Regions from separate parts of the Homo sapiens genome. Here all the other regions are linked to region 1. The links are contacts of gene promoters, found by promoter capture Hi-C in blood cells and fetal thymus (Javierre and others, 2016). All regions are on one chromosome and are shown on one strand. Each heading gives the region's core, a stretch centred on a gene start or on the middle of the fragment in contact. The rest is flanking DNA. Distances are from core to core; before and after follow the strand shown.

The links. Contacts are between HindIII fragments. The CHiCAGO score rates a contact against its expected background, and 5 or more counts as called.
Region 2: a contact is called between a fragment that was not itself captured here and the fragment with the promoter of SURF4 in region 1, in 2 of 17 cell types (naive CD8 T cells and total CD8 T cells). The highest score is 6.6, in naive CD8 T cells.
Region 3: a contact is called between a fragment that was not itself captured here and the fragment with the promoter of SURF4 in region 1, in 2 of 17 cell types (erythroblasts and M2 macrophages). The highest score is 6.1, in erythroblasts.

Annotation. Positions count from the first base shown.
Region 1 is chr9:133,374,810-133,379,590 of GRCh38, reverse strand. It overlaps SURF4 (surfeit 4), which reads left to right and starts at 3,531. Exons shown (of 6, transcript NM_033161.4): 1 at 3,531-3,669. The coding sequence starts at 3,622. STKLD1 (serine/threonine kinase like domain containing 1) reads right to left here and starts at 3,225. Exons shown (of 18, transcript NM_153710.5): 1 at 3,031-3,225; 2 at 469-555. The coding sequence starts at 3,117. RefSeq lists silencers at 2,987-3,486, 3,577-3,816, 3,827-4,106. The HindIII fragment of the contact is 2,219 bases long and covers 2,271-4,489 here.
Region 2 is chr9:133,141,549-133,146,329 of GRCh38, reverse strand. It overlaps a transcript of RALGDS not described here. Among named protein-coding and RNA genes, the nearest start is that of GBGT1, 20 kb to the left of the region's middle. RefSeq lists silencers at 1,565-1,684, 1,715-1,814 and enhancers at 1,961-2,520, 2,973-3,062, 3,113-3,242, 3,642-3,691, 3,742-4,021. The HindIII fragment of the contact is 8,766 bases long and covers 1-4,781 here.
Region 3 is chr9:133,173,168-133,177,948 of GRCh38, reverse strand. No RefSeq gene overlaps it. Among named protein-coding and RNA genes, the nearest start is that of GBGT1, 12 kb to the right of the region's middle. The HindIII fragment of the contact is 2,504 bases long and covers 737-3,240 here.

The sequences.
Region 1 (4,781 bases), core at 2,282-4,781:
TCCTCTCTGGGCCTGGCTCCCTTTTGGTAAAACTGGTGACCCAGCACTGGGTAGCACGGTGTCCCCCAGTGAGGTGGCCTGAATTCAAATCCTCTTGGAAATTGTGTGACCTTGCCTAGTCTGGCGCTGCATTGAGCCTCACTGTCTTTGGCTATAAACAGGGTCATTGTTTCTGCTTTACAGGGTTGACGGGAGATGAAGTGAGTCAGTGCCTGGCATACAGCACGTGATGCGTAAATGGTGGGAGGTGGTGGTGTTGGAGTAAAAATTAGCATTGCTTCCCCATCAAGGTGACAGAGCTTCACGCACCCCCACATCTACCCCAACCAGATTAGTCTCCGCAAGTGTCAGCAGCGAGGAATCCAGCTGCCGCATCAGGAAGCTTCTCCAACATGGGAAGAGCTTGTATTGGGGAAAATCACAGTCACAGAACCACCCGGCATGGGATGCACAGGCTTGGCCTCTTACCTGCTTTATCACATGCTTGACTTTGGTTTCCATTTCCTCCACCACCAGGTTCACCCCCAAGGCCCCAGGATTCAGCTGGTACAAAACCTATCAGCAAGGAAGAGAGAAGCTTTCAGGAAATGCACACAACTTTTCCCTTTCCAAAAGCCCAGCTCCAACTCCTTTTCTGGCCCTGCTAACTCCCCTGTCAGGCTGGCAGAGCAAGTGGCTCCACCCCATCTTGCAATAGAGGAAATGGCCCAAGGAGGGCAAGAAGCCTTTCAATGGCAGAACTCTGATCTCACCTATTTGGGGCCGATTCTGGAGCTCTTCTACAACCCTGTATCCCTCCCCCAACCTGCAATGAGGACCAGCTGGGCACTCAAGTGCAAGAACCTCCCAGAGAAAAAGGGCTTATTCACTCTCTATAGACCTCTGTGACCTCAACTTCCAGCATCCACCTCCCAACTGGTTTCCAACAAGAAAGTAACCAATCTTGTGACTGGTACAATCAGGAAGCCATTGTGTGCCTGGCATGGTGCCAAGCACTTCACAGCCACCCTTTGCAGTTGACACCATTGCTACCTCTGTGTTTACATTGGGGAAAACTGAGGCACAAGGAGCTAGGTCCTTGCCTGAGGCTATGTCACTAGAAAGCAGGACACTGCCTGGGGTAACTCTGGGGGTCTGATCTTAGAGCCTGTGATTTGAGCCAAATCTGGAGAGATGGCCACCAAGCCAGAACTCTGTGCAGAGACCAAGTGCTATGGGGCAGGGGGCTGGGCCGGGGATTGCTGGAGGCTGACATTCATCAGAGGATTGGGGGAGGGAGGGCAGGACCCAGAGGAGGAGATATGAGGATGGAAGCCTGAGCCTAGGGACTCTCGGAGCCCATAAAAGTCTTAGGAGTCTGTAATCCAGCCTTGTGAGCAGCCTGCTCATGACACTGGATATTCTAAGCCAGGGGTCCCCAACCTAGTCCGTGGCCTGTTAGGAACCAGGCTGCACAGCAGGAGGTGAGCAGCAGGCAGTGGAGCAAAGCTTCATCTGTATTTACAGCCGCTCCCCATGGCTCGCATTACCACCCAAGCTCCACCTCCTGTCAGCTCAGCAGCAGCATTAGATTCTCATGGGAGTGTGAACCCTATTGTGAACAGTGCATGTGAGGGATCCAGGTTGCATGCTCCTTATGAGAAACAAATGCCTGATGATCCGTCACTGTCTCCCATCATCCCGAGAGGATGGTCTAGTTGCAAGAAAACAAGCTCAGGGCTCCCACTGATTCTACATTATGGTGAGTTGTGTAATTATTTCATTATGTATTACAACATAATAATAGAAATGAACTGCACACTAAGTGTAATGTGCTTGAATCATCCCAAAACCATCCTCCCGCCTCCATCTGTGGAAAAATTGTCTTCCACAAAACTGGTCCCTTGTGCCAAAAAGGTTGGGGACTGCTATTTTTTTTTTTCTTTCTGAGACAGAGTTTTGCTCTTGTTGCCCAGGCTGGAGTCCAATGGCGCTATCTTGGCTCACCACAACCTCTGCCTCCTGGGTTCAAGCGATTCTCCAGCCTCAGCCTCCCGAGTAGCTGTGATTACAGGCATGCGCCACCACACCTGGCTAATTTTGTATTTTTAGTAGAGACAGTTTCTCCATGTTGGTCAGGCTGGTCTTGAACTCCCGATCTCAGGTGATCCGCCCGCCTTGGCCTCCCAAAGTGTTGGGGATTACAGGCGTGAGCCACCGAGCCCGGCCAGGGACTGCTGTTCTAAGCCACAGCGGGCTGAGGGCAGAGCTGGTGTGAGAGCGTTCAAGCTTAGGCAGCAAATTAAACAGTAAAATGGAGCCGTATCTCGAATCAAGTCTATTTTTTTTTCCAAAAGCAGGTATATTCCTGAAACGTCTATTTTTTTTTAATCTGAAAAACAACTTTACTTTAAAAATTATCTGGCCACCAGAAGCTCATCTGCTTCACCTCTGGCAACGCCCTATAGTCCTCTCACACAAAGACAATTCTTCCAAAGTGACAAAAATCTAACCCGCAAACTGTTTCCAAGCGAATGCATTTTTCACAAATGCTGAATCTAACATTTAATAAAGTGTATATATCATGTATAGAAGCATTTAATTAAACATTTACTTTTATTTTGCAGCTTTCCTTTTGTGTTTTGTGAATTTTTTAGGTCTCAAACATTTTCACAGACCCACGCTGCAGGGGTGTTTTTAGGGGACTGGGGGCTCCCAATTATGTACTCGGGATGTTCCCGGGGGTCCTGCCTCGGTGGACCCAAGCGCACAGACCCCAGGCACGAAGGATAGAGGAGCTGCCCCACGCCCTCAAATACTCAGCCAGGGCTGGAGAATCCTTAGTCAATTCACAAAGGGGGAAACTGAGTGGCAAAGGGCACCCAGGAGGTCACCGTTGGAGGCCCCCCGGGTTCAACCTAGGAGCTGCAGGCCGACACTGGCCAGGGCGCGGGCCCCTCGCCGCCCTCGGTCGGAACCGCCGGCCGTAGCTCCAGGGTTGCGACCGTTACCCCACGGAGCTCCCGCCTCCCCGCAGGGAACACTCGGCACCTGGTACTTCTCCATGGGCTCTCCGGGGGACCCTGGGCCTCGCTCCCCCTGCGTGGGGCGCCTGCGATTGGACCCTGGCCCAAGCATGATCAGTAGCGACCGCGTACGGGCGAGCGTCCACCCCTGGCCCCACCCCGCGTGGGTCAGTGGGACCCGCGGGATCCTCCCCGCCCGAACGGCGCCCTCGAGGCACTCAGGCGTCCCTCCCGCGCGCTGGCCCCAGACCCCCAGGTCCCCGCCCCCTTAAAAGGGACGCGTTCCGCCGGGCCGGGAGGGACCGCAGGGCCTGCGCGCGGCGGGCGGGGCCTCCAGCGTGAGAGGCGTGGCGTCGAGCGCGGCGGGCGTGGCTTCGAGCGGATGGGTCGGGAGGCTGGGGATGGCGCGTGGCCCCTTTAAGACGCACCGGGGCGGGCCCGGGCGGCGCGCGGCCCCTTTAAGGCTTGGCCTACGTGGCAGCCGCTGGAGCCGCAGCCGACGCGGAGCGAGGCCGGCCGCCGGGCACTTCCTGTGGAGGCCGCAGCGGGTGCGGGCGCCGACGGGCGAGAGCCAGCGAGCGAGCGAGCGAGCCGAGCCGAGCCTCCCGCCGTCGCCATGGGCCAGAACGACCTGATGGGCACGGCCGAGGACTTCGCCGACCAGGTGCGGCCTGCGGGCTCCTCCCCCGGCCCCGGTCCCGACCCAGGCCGCCCGGGCCGCTCCGGAGTCGGCCTCCCAGCGCAGGGCGCCAGGCCCGGGCCGCCCCCTGACTCCTTGTTCCCACAGGGGGACCCCCCCGCCCGGGCCCTCTGTCCCGGCTGGACAGCCCCAAACCCGGCCTCCGGGCCCAGTCTCCCCTGCCCGCTGGGCCGCTCCCGGAGCCCGGGCCTCGGCGCCCTGCCTGGCTAGCCGCCCCCACCCTCCAGCCAGCCCGGGGCGCGGGCTGTGGGGGTTTCTTCCCGGGCCGGCGGCGCGAGTCCTGGCGTTGGGTCGGGTCTGAGGCTCGCGGGGAGCGCCTCGGCGTTTGGAGCTGCTGGGGGGTCCCCGCACGTTTTTCCTCTCACTGGGGCTCCCGGAGGCGGGCTGGGAGCTCGGGGACGAACGGGGGCCGGGGGTCCTCCCAGAGGAAAGGGGGCGCGCTGGCGTGCGCCCCAGCTACAGGAAGCCACAGCACCTTTTCCTTTTCTCTTTCCCAGATGTGCTGGACTCTTGGGGTCCCTTTGACCCTGTCTGCGTCTCCCTCCCCGTTTGGACTCTGCCCTGGGCTGGATTGAGTGGGGACCTGTACACAGCCTGGGAGGAGGGGAAGCCTATCTCCCTGATAGTCTCCTTCCAGAAGTGTCCAGGTGGCATTCTGAGCAACAGGGAAGCCTTTGAAACAGGCGGTTGGGTAACTGTTGAGAGCATTCGGGAACTGGGTGGACAGGATCCGATCCTACAAAGTGAAGGGACACAACTCCCTTCCCTCTTTCTTGATTAAGCTTGACAGAACAAAAAAACAAAAACAAAAGGTGGTGGTGGTTACGCAGATTTATGCCTTTTACTTCTAAAAGAATCCCGTTATGTCGACAAATTAACAGCCTTATCCCCGCAGGGAGAGCCTTGTGTGGCCCACTTGCCGTTTTTTCCTCGGTTTACTTAATGTGTTCGTGTGGCTTTGCTAGAGTTTTAAGTAGTGATGGTTAAATTTTTAAATTTTTCTGGAGGTGGTAGTGAGTCATCAAACTCTGAGGCCTAGACTTATCGGAAGGCTTGTATATGTGTGGTTTAAAAAA
Region 2 (4,781 bases), core at 1,613-4,112, 230 kb after region 1:
TATAATCCCAGCTACTCCGGAGGCTGAGGCAGGAAAATCACTTGAACCTGGGAGGTGATGAGTGCAGTGAGCCAAGATCATGCCACTGCACTCCAGCCTGGGCGACGGAGCCAGACCCTGTCTCAATAAACAAACGAACAAACAAACAAACAAACATCATGGGAGCCATTGGAAGGTGTTCCCATTGGAAGATGCTCCCATATGCCACAGGGGGCCGATATCTGATTTTTGCTTCATTTTCAACCCGTTCATGGTGCAAATGAGGAAACCAGACCAAGAAGGGAGTGACTTTCCCCAGATCACAGCACCAGTGCCCAGCCTGTCCGACTTGTATTCCGGGCTGTGTCTCGCCCCTGTGAGAAGTTTCTTTCCTCACAGTTGTAAAGGCCAGAGGTCCAAAATCCAGGGGTCAGCAGGACCCTGCAGTCTCTGAAGGCCCTTTTCCTTCCTAATCCTTCCATCTCTAAGTCTGTGAGGCAGCTAACAGGTTTTGTAGTATTGTCTCACATTAGCGTGGTGATGTCCCCAGGAAGTAGACGTTAGAACCATCCCCATTGTGCAGGTCAGGAGACTGGGGAGGCCCTGAAAGGCACAATGGCTAGTTTGGGGTCACAGAACTGGCAAGAGGCAGGAGCTTGGTGACCCAGATGGCTTCCCCTCTCTGAGCCTCAGGGGCTGGGAGCATGAGAACACACTGGTTGGCTGTCCCAGCTCCCAGGGTGGCTGTGAGTACCTGGAAGTGCCCCTTGTCTCCCCTCACACATCTGCCATCACTCTCCCCATTTCCTTAACCCCCAGCACTGCTGCCACTTGATTTTTACGAACATCTGAATATGACGAACATACAGATTTTTACGAACATCTGAATATGACGAAGTAGCAAAGGTGGATATTCACTCATTCATTTCGTATCTGTCTCCTGGGCCCAGGCCATGCCGGGGCGGGGGGTGGGGGTAACAAGAATCCGGGGAGTTGCCAGGGGAAGGGGAAGTGCTCATCTGGGGAGTGCGTGGGCACAGAGAGATTCCAGAAGGAGGTGTCCTGTGGTCGTGGTTGATTCGTGGAGGGGAGGTGTGGTGATGGCACAGAGGGTGATGACTGGGACCAGTGTCTATCGGGTCAGCTTCCTGGGCTGCTGTCACAAAGTGCTGGGTGGCTCAACACAACAGAAATGTATTCTCTCACAGTTCTAAAGGCCAGAAGTCCAAAATCCAGGGGTCAGCAAGGCCATGCTGTCTCTGAAGGTTCTAGGAGAGGATACTTCCTTGCATCTTCCAACCTCTGGTGGCTGCCAGTTTCCTTGGCATTCGTTCCTGGTTTTGTAGACGTGTGACTGCAAACTGTGCCTTCATCAGTTCGTGTCTGTCCGCCTGTGCGTGTCTGTCCAATTTTCCCTGTTATCATAAGGATAGCAGTCATTGGATTAAGGCCCACCCTAATCCAGTATGACCTCATCCGGATTCTATCCGCACAGACCCTATTTCCAAATAAGATCTCATTCACGGGTACCAGAGATCTTTTTGTTCAGGGACACAGTTCAACCCGTAACAGGAGTATTGGGAATGATCCCCCTCCCAAAGGCCGGGTACCCGCGTGCCTACGGGGACTAGGGGAGCAGCGGGGAGTCGGAAGACATCGCAGGAACCCAGCCCCCAGCCAGGGGGTGTGGGGGCGTGAGCGGAGCCCGCCTGCTCCTCAGCTTGGCGCGCTCTGGCGGCAGCACCAGCAGGTGGCGCTGTGCCCTCCCGTGCGGCCGCCCAGCCCGGCGCGGAGCTGCCGCAGACAAAGGTCTCGCTTTCGGGTCGCGAGGAGCTTGCGCACAGCTGTAAACAGGCCAGGGGCACGGCCACCTCATGGGTGACACACACGGGAGGAAATCAAACCAGGCGGGGCCGAGGCGGGGTGACTGGGTGGCGACTTTGCGTCGGAGGCCGGCGGGGGGCGGAGGAGGAGGTGACAGGGGTGGCGAGGAGGACCATGGTTTGCAGACCGTGGTGTCAGCGGGGCGGAAAGGAAGGCAGGGAGGAGGGATAGGGGACCTGCGAGGCTGCAGGGGCCAGGAGTTTGCCTTTCGTTTGGTTCCTCGCCTGCAAGCTGAGCCGGCCTTTCTCAGGCCTCTCCAGAGGCCGTGCGGCTGATGACACTGCGGTTTGCAGATAGCTCTCCTGTTACTGCAGGCCCAGGTCTGCGGGTGCTCGGAAGGCAGCCCTGGGCACGGGTGGGCTGTCTGTGCAGATAGAGACTTGAGGGGTCCTTCCCCCCAACCCCAGCCCCAGACCCTGCCTCAGGGGAGCTGGGATGCCTGAGGTGGTCCTGCTGCTCCTGGTGGGGGTCAGCACAGCCCCTCAGAGGCGCCTTTGATATACAAAGGGGCGAGGCAGTGTGGGGCTGAGGAGCAGGGGTCAGGTCCCCGCCATGGAGCTGCTCACATGGCATCAGCGAAAGGGAGCGGAGTGCACAGCGGGCCGCTGGCCCAGGAGTGGAATGAGTGGAAGCCATTCCTTTATTTTATTATTATTATTATTATTATTATTATTATTATTGTTGTTGTTGTTGTTATTATTATTATTATTATTATTATTATTATTATTGAGACAGGGTCTTGCTCTGTGGCCCAGGCTGCAGTGCAGGGGCCAGATCACGGCTCACTGCGTCCTCGACCTCCTGGGCTCAGACCTCCAGAGTAGCTGGGGCGGCAGGTGCACGCCAACACTCCCAGCTAATTTTTGGATTTTTTTTGTAGAAACAGTTTCACCATGTTGCCCAGGCTGGTCTCAAACACCTGGGCTCAAGGGATTCCCCCCGCCTCGGCCTCCCAAACTGCTAGGATTAAAGGCTTGAGACACTGCATCCAGCAAGAGGCCATTTCTTACTGTCACCTCCCTACCCGCACAAGGCCCTCCCACCACCTCCTCGCTCACCGAGCTACCAGGCCCGCCCCTGAGGCTGCTGGTCCTTGACAGTTGGTTCAGCGATTGATTCACACAGCAGATACTGGCCTCTGTACACCTGGCTGGCGCTGGGTGCCTGGCCTGTGGGAAGCACCCTGGCTTCTGTGGAAGGCTCAGGGGTATGGGGCAGACAGATCTTGTGGAGAAGGCATGGGCTGCGAGCCTGGGGACCTGGATTCAGTGGCCACTCTGCCATCAGTGGCGTGGTCAGTCACCATTGCACGCTAGCCACAGGACTATTCTCCACAGAGTCCTTCCCTCTGTCCCCTGCTGCAGAGGTGCCTGGTGATGACAGCCAGCCTGTAGGCCTTGTGCTAAAGTGTCCCTTGTATCTGCTCAGCACTCTGCAAGATAAGTGCCACTGCCATCCTCACTTCCAGGTGGGGAAACTGAGGCACTGGAAGGGGAAGGAACTCCCACAGCTAGGTAGTGGCAGCTTGGCAATGGCGCCTCCCCGTGTGCACACAAGCCTGGGAAGGGCCAGGCACCAGGACCACATTCCTTCCAATTACAGTGGCCTTCCAACGGTCAGGGCTGGGCCCGGCTGCTGGGCAGGGCGGGGCTGGGAGGCCCTAGGCCCCAAGTGGTGGTTAATGGCGGCAAGGAGACATAAACAGAGCTAATGAGCCCCTTTCATCGTCTCCCTGCTCTAATGAAGGCCTTGGACTCTGGGCTTTGCATTTTGGGGGTTCTTGATTCTGGAGCCTCAAAGAGTCTTAGGGCCAGGGGTATGTGGGCCCCCCCATAGGGGTGGGGTGTGAGCTTATGGACTCCCAGTGTCCCCTCCCAGGGCAGCCAAGCCAGGGTGAGGAAGTGGAGAGGAAAGGGAACGGGAAGCATTGTGGCATCCCCCTAAGAATGACAAGCCCCAGAAAAAAGGGAGTGTTCCCGTGGCAACCCAGAGCAGTTGCTTGGCAACTGCTGGCCCCCAAAATACTTGCCTGCAGGAAGGCTCCGGGCTGGGGCTTTCCGATGGGCTTTCCGATGGCTCACTTCCAACCCCCACCAGCGCACACCCACCCCTGGCCCAAAAAGAAGACTCTGAGGCTGAAAGAGAAAATGCAGAGACCAGGGTCCAGGACCTTCATTAGAGCCTGGGGAGGAAGGGGCCTGACCTGCTGAGTTTCCTCAGATACTTCTCATGGCCCTCCACCCTGACACAGGACCCAGTAGACTCTGCCCCTGGATCCTTCCTGAGGGACACCCCAGTCCACTCCCCCCTCCCCATCTCCCCACTCTGCCAGCCACCCGGCATCAAGCCAGTCCCCTAGCAACAGAGGCCGCTTCCTGGATACCTGAGTGAGAGTTGACAGTGGCAGAATGTCAGAAAACGCAAGGTCAGAAAGCACAGCGATGGCTCGGTGCCAGCCAGAGTGTGTGGGGCCATGGGGTACCACGTGTGGTACCGTGTGCTTTGCCGCCCTGCAGCCGTGGGCTCCCTGGCCTGGGGCTGGATGGCATGCCAGGTTGTGGTTGGGCTGGGTACAGCCCTTGGAACAGGGGACTGTGGTTCTGGGCCAACTTTGATACCGACTGACTATGTGACCTTAGTGTGTCCCTTCTCGCTGGCCTCAGTTTCCCCATTGGTGGCCCATCTACCCCTCTGCCTGTGTGTTTACCGTTCAGTGCATAAACATTGCCCTGTGAATTATGTCACCTACTGGGGCCTTGGGGCAGGAGAGTGAGGGGACCAGGACCAGGCCGCCACTGCCCTTCCTCCTCACATGTCGGCATCCACCTCGGCCATCAGGCCCCTGGTCCTCAGGTGAGGCAGGTGGCTTTGGAGCAGGACACCTGGGTCCAAATTCCAGCTCAGCGCTTATTGCTGGG
Region 3 (4,781 bases), core at 739-3,238, 200 kb after region 1:
CTTTGCCTGACGATGGTGAAGAACACAACTGTGTAAATGTAGTGCCAGAAATAGTGGCCCCTCATGTTGATTTACAAGATACTCCAGTGGATAATCCTGGATTTATACTTTTTGTTGATAGGTCCTATCCTAAAATCTCAGAAGGAAAATACCAGGCAGAATATGCTGTTACCATCCAAAATGAGTGAATAGAGAAGGAAACGCTTCCTCAATTTAAGTCAGCCCGAACTGCAGAGCTTTTTGTCCTTACCCAAGTTTGTCATATAGCTGAGGACAAGTCAGTAAATATTTATACAGCTAGTAGATATGCTTTCGGAGTAGTACATGATTTTGGCGTGATATGGAAACTATGAGGGTTTCTCACCTCTAGTGGGACCTCCATCAAAAATAGACCCCAAGTAAATGAGCCCCTTTCTGCTATCCTGTTACCATTGTAGACTGTTGTTACTAAGATTGAAGCTCATACTTGTAGAACTGAACCCAAATATCAGGGAAATGCTTTAGCAAATTTTTATGCTAAATCAGCTAGTGCTGAAACTGTTAAGAAATGCAATCTGAATGAACTCCATTGGATTAAGCCGAGCCCACTTCCTTATGATGACCTGCTTAGTAAACAGTGCAGTGCACCTGATTTGGAAAAGCAAAATTGGTATCTAAAAGGATGTAAATTTAATGTGATGCACAGACTCACGGAGGGCCCAGACGGCCGCCTGGTCCTTCCTGAGTCTTTGAAGCTTCCATTGTTGAAAACGCTGCACTCCACCGCTCATCATGGAACAGACAAAATGATCCAAATTATGAAAAAATACTGGTCGGGTGACTGTTCCAAAATTGCTAAAATGGTTTATAATCAATGTTTGACTTGTCAAACTCATAATCCTGGAAAAACAATCAAAACTTCAGGTCATATATTTCCACCACCTGATGAACAATTTGAGCATTTACAGATGGACTTAATTTAGTTGTGACGCGCAATGGGGTATCAGTATGTTCTTGTAATAGTTTGCATGTTTTTGGCCGGGCGTGGTGGCTCACGTCTGTAATCCCAGCCCTTCGGGAGGCCGAGGTGGGTGGATCACAAGGTCAGGAGATCGAGACCATCTTGGCTAACATGGTGAAACCCCCTCTCTACTAAAAAATACAAAAAAATTAGCCGGGCGTGGTGGCAGGCACCTGTAGTACCAGCTACTCGGGAGACTGAGGCAGGAGAATGGTGTGAACCCGGGAGGCAGAGCTTGCAGTGAGCCGAGATCGCGCCACTGCACTCCAGCCTGGGCAACAGAGCAAGACTCCGTCTCAAAAAAACAAAAAGGGGCCCCTTCAGAGTCCTGGAACTGTACACCTGTTGGAGACTTTAAAGTAAAGCTGACCAAGGAAATCTCTCTTCAGAAGCAGACAGCATCCTAGTTTTGGACAGCTTTCCCAAGATCATGGACCAAGACTTCTCTATCATCAGGAAAGCCTTATGTGTTTTTCTGTTTTCCTCATCTTCTGCCCTAATCTTGTCCTTTTCCCTACAGGCAAACCCATGGCACCATAATCAGTGGATGGCTTTAGCTCAAGTTTATGCTCTAGCACAAAACCAGAGTAATTGTTGGGTTTGTGGGCTAATGCCAAAAAAAAATCAGGAAATGATTCCACTGGTGCCAGTGCCCCTCCGCGTTCCCAGCGAGAGCTACCTGAAACTAAGGGAAGAACAGAAAGTTATTCTTGATATGCTAAACATCACTGCTACTTGCTTCCTACACTCACTAAAAACAACACTCTAACTTTTTCAATTGATAAGTCGATCATTACCAAATATAAAAAAACAATCCAAGGCTGGGTGCAGTGGCTCATGTCTGTAATCCCAGCACTTTGGGAGGCTGAGGCAGGTGGATCAACTGAGGTCAGGAGTTTGAGACCAGCCTGGCCAACATGGTAAAACCCCATCTCTACTAAAAATACAAAAATTAGCCAGGCATGGTGGTAGGCGCCTATAATCCCAGCTACTGGGGAGGCTGAGGTAGGAGAATCACTTGAACCTGGGAGGCAGAGGTTGCAGTGAGCCAAGATCGTGCCATTACACTCCACTCCAGCCTGGGCAACAAGAGCGAAACTTCGTCTCAAAAAAAAAAATCCAAGTGATGCCAGCAAAAGATACATTGTGCTTCCAGACATCACGCACTCAAGATTTGGGAATTACTTATGTTGATACAAGTGATTGCTTGTATAATGTAACTGGATTAAATCCAGTAGGGTCTCTTTTTTACTAGATATGGTTATATACCCTTACAACATGCTATAAAGGGGCCACAGAAAAGTAAATTTCCCACTGGACGTTGTTCAGGAGGTATGCAGATTTGTGGTCGAACAAACCTGACTGATCTCTGCTCAAATGCAACTAGGTGGCCCTCTTTTCCAATCCCCAAGGGTCTATACTGGGTCTGTGAAGAGTCTGCGTATCCTGTTCTGCCTCCTCATTGGTTGGGTTCTTGTTATGTGGCCTGGCTTGCTCCTGCCTTTCAAATAGCTTCCCCTGAAAATTCTCATGATGGCCCTTATGATTGGAGGCCAAAATGATCAATAACTGAAATTAGCACTAGCCTTGAAATATTTGAGGATAAGCTCGTTTCTACTGAGGAAAGATTCCAGTGGGATTCCTGGGGGTGCACTCTTGGTGGTAGTGAGATAGCAGTTGTATGGAATTTAAAGCTAATTTGTAAATTGGGAAAAATCTTGGATTTTGTAATCAATCAGACCTCCCAGGGTTTCAGATGGGTAGAAGCTGCTCTCAGAAAGATAGATGACAGGGCTGGGCATGGTGGCTCACGCCTGTAATCCCGGCATTTGGGAGGCCAAGGCGGGCAGATCTCTTGAGGTCAGAAGTTTGAGACCAGCCTGGCCAACATGGTGAAACCCCATCTCTACTAAAAATACAAAAATTAGCCAGGCATGGTGGCTCATGCCTGTAATCCCAGCTACTTGGGAGGCTGAGGCAGTAGAATCGCTTGAACCCAGGAGGCGGTGGTTGCAGTGAGCCAAGATAATGCCATTGCACTCCAGCCTGGGCAACAGAGTGAGACTCCATCTCAAAAAAAAAAAAGATAGATGACAACACGTGAATTCAGCAAAAACACTTACTGGAACATCGTGCAACCTCAGATCTTTTTGCTCAAGCTGGAAGCCTAGGTTTGGTGTTAAACAAAACTGAATGTTGTACTACTTATCTCTTACCTGATTTTGTTATTACAGGAAGCTTAATTTAAAAGGTGCTGATACTGCTGTTTCCTTAGACACTGCCACCAAATACATTAAAGACATCTCTCAAGAGAAAGGAGCCCATGACATGTTTACAATAGGCAACTAACGGTTTGCAGGCATCCTAAGGGTGGATGGCAAGCTTGGGTTTTCCAAGGGCTTCTAATCCTTATAATTCTTCTAGTAGGTTTCCAAGTTATTATGACTTGTATTACCAATGTAACAATGAAAATGAGTAACTGTTTAAGTCAGGCCACTTTACAGCAAACCATGGTCCTTAATCGCTATCATACTCTAAACGAGGATAATGACCAATTGGACCCTAACACTGTTGAACTGCCTATATTGTCTGAACCTTCACTTGGCTAATTTGGTTCGGTTCATTTCATAAGAACTCTCATTAAGGAGTACGCCTTGGCATTTTGATAGTATCCTCTTGATAGTCATAATAATCGTCACCCTGATACACTGTATCCTCTCAAGTCTTAAATGTTTTGTATGCAGCCATCCATTGAGAGTTGAATGGTCTCATTCCAACCAGGTCAAAAAGAACATAAAGAATCATTTAGCTGGTACAAAGCTGCAACTTGTGAATTCCATGTTAACACCAAAGAAGATGTGTGAGACTCCATACTGAAACTAAAGAAGACTTGTGAATTCCACACTGAGACCAAATAAGTCTTTAGGATGGTGACAGAGAGTGGCATCAATGCCTAAAGCTTCGGTCAATCTCTCTAAATTGAGAGGCTGACCAAAAGAGGGGAATTGTTAAAGCAAACTAAATATGGCCTAAGAAGGGACTCCCTACCTCTCTATTTGAGTCCTTGTGGATGAACCATAAGCTGGCTTAATAGGCAGACAAGATGGAAAACCCAACTTAGTAGTATGCACCTATAACAATGGCTGAGTGTTGGCCAATCCCAGCGGCCATACTTCAACCACTCATAGACTGCTGAGTGTTTAAACTGTGTTCAACTAAGGCAAACGCCGAGATGCAACCAATCTCTGTTTCTGTACTTCATTTCCAATTCCTGTACATCACTTTACTTTTTTGTCTATAAATTTGTTCTGACCACGAGGAACCCCCAGAGTCTCTGAATCTGCTGTGATTCTGGAGGCTGCCCGATTTGTGAATCATTTCTTTTTTATTTTTTTCCAATTAAACTCCATCAAATTTAACTTGTCTGAAGTTTTAACAGCTGGTAACACCAGCACCATAGCTTCCTGATGCATTCACTCATTCAGCAAATATTCTCTGGTCCTGCTGTGTGCCCAGCTGTGTGCCTCAGTGAGCGTGATCCGATGAGGTCACTCCCCACGTGGAGCTCACGCCCACTCTGTGACGTGCAGGGACGGTCCATGGGGTTAGCAGGGATGATGAGCACCGGGAATTGGCCATTTTATTAAAAGAGAGTCCTGTATTTGAAAGAAATAATGGAGAAAAGGCCTACTTGGCACTTGATCTTGAAAAATGAAATAAAAATATGAAAAATAAATGTAGCCTTTTTTGTTTGCTTGTTTGCTTTAAGACAGGGTCTCAC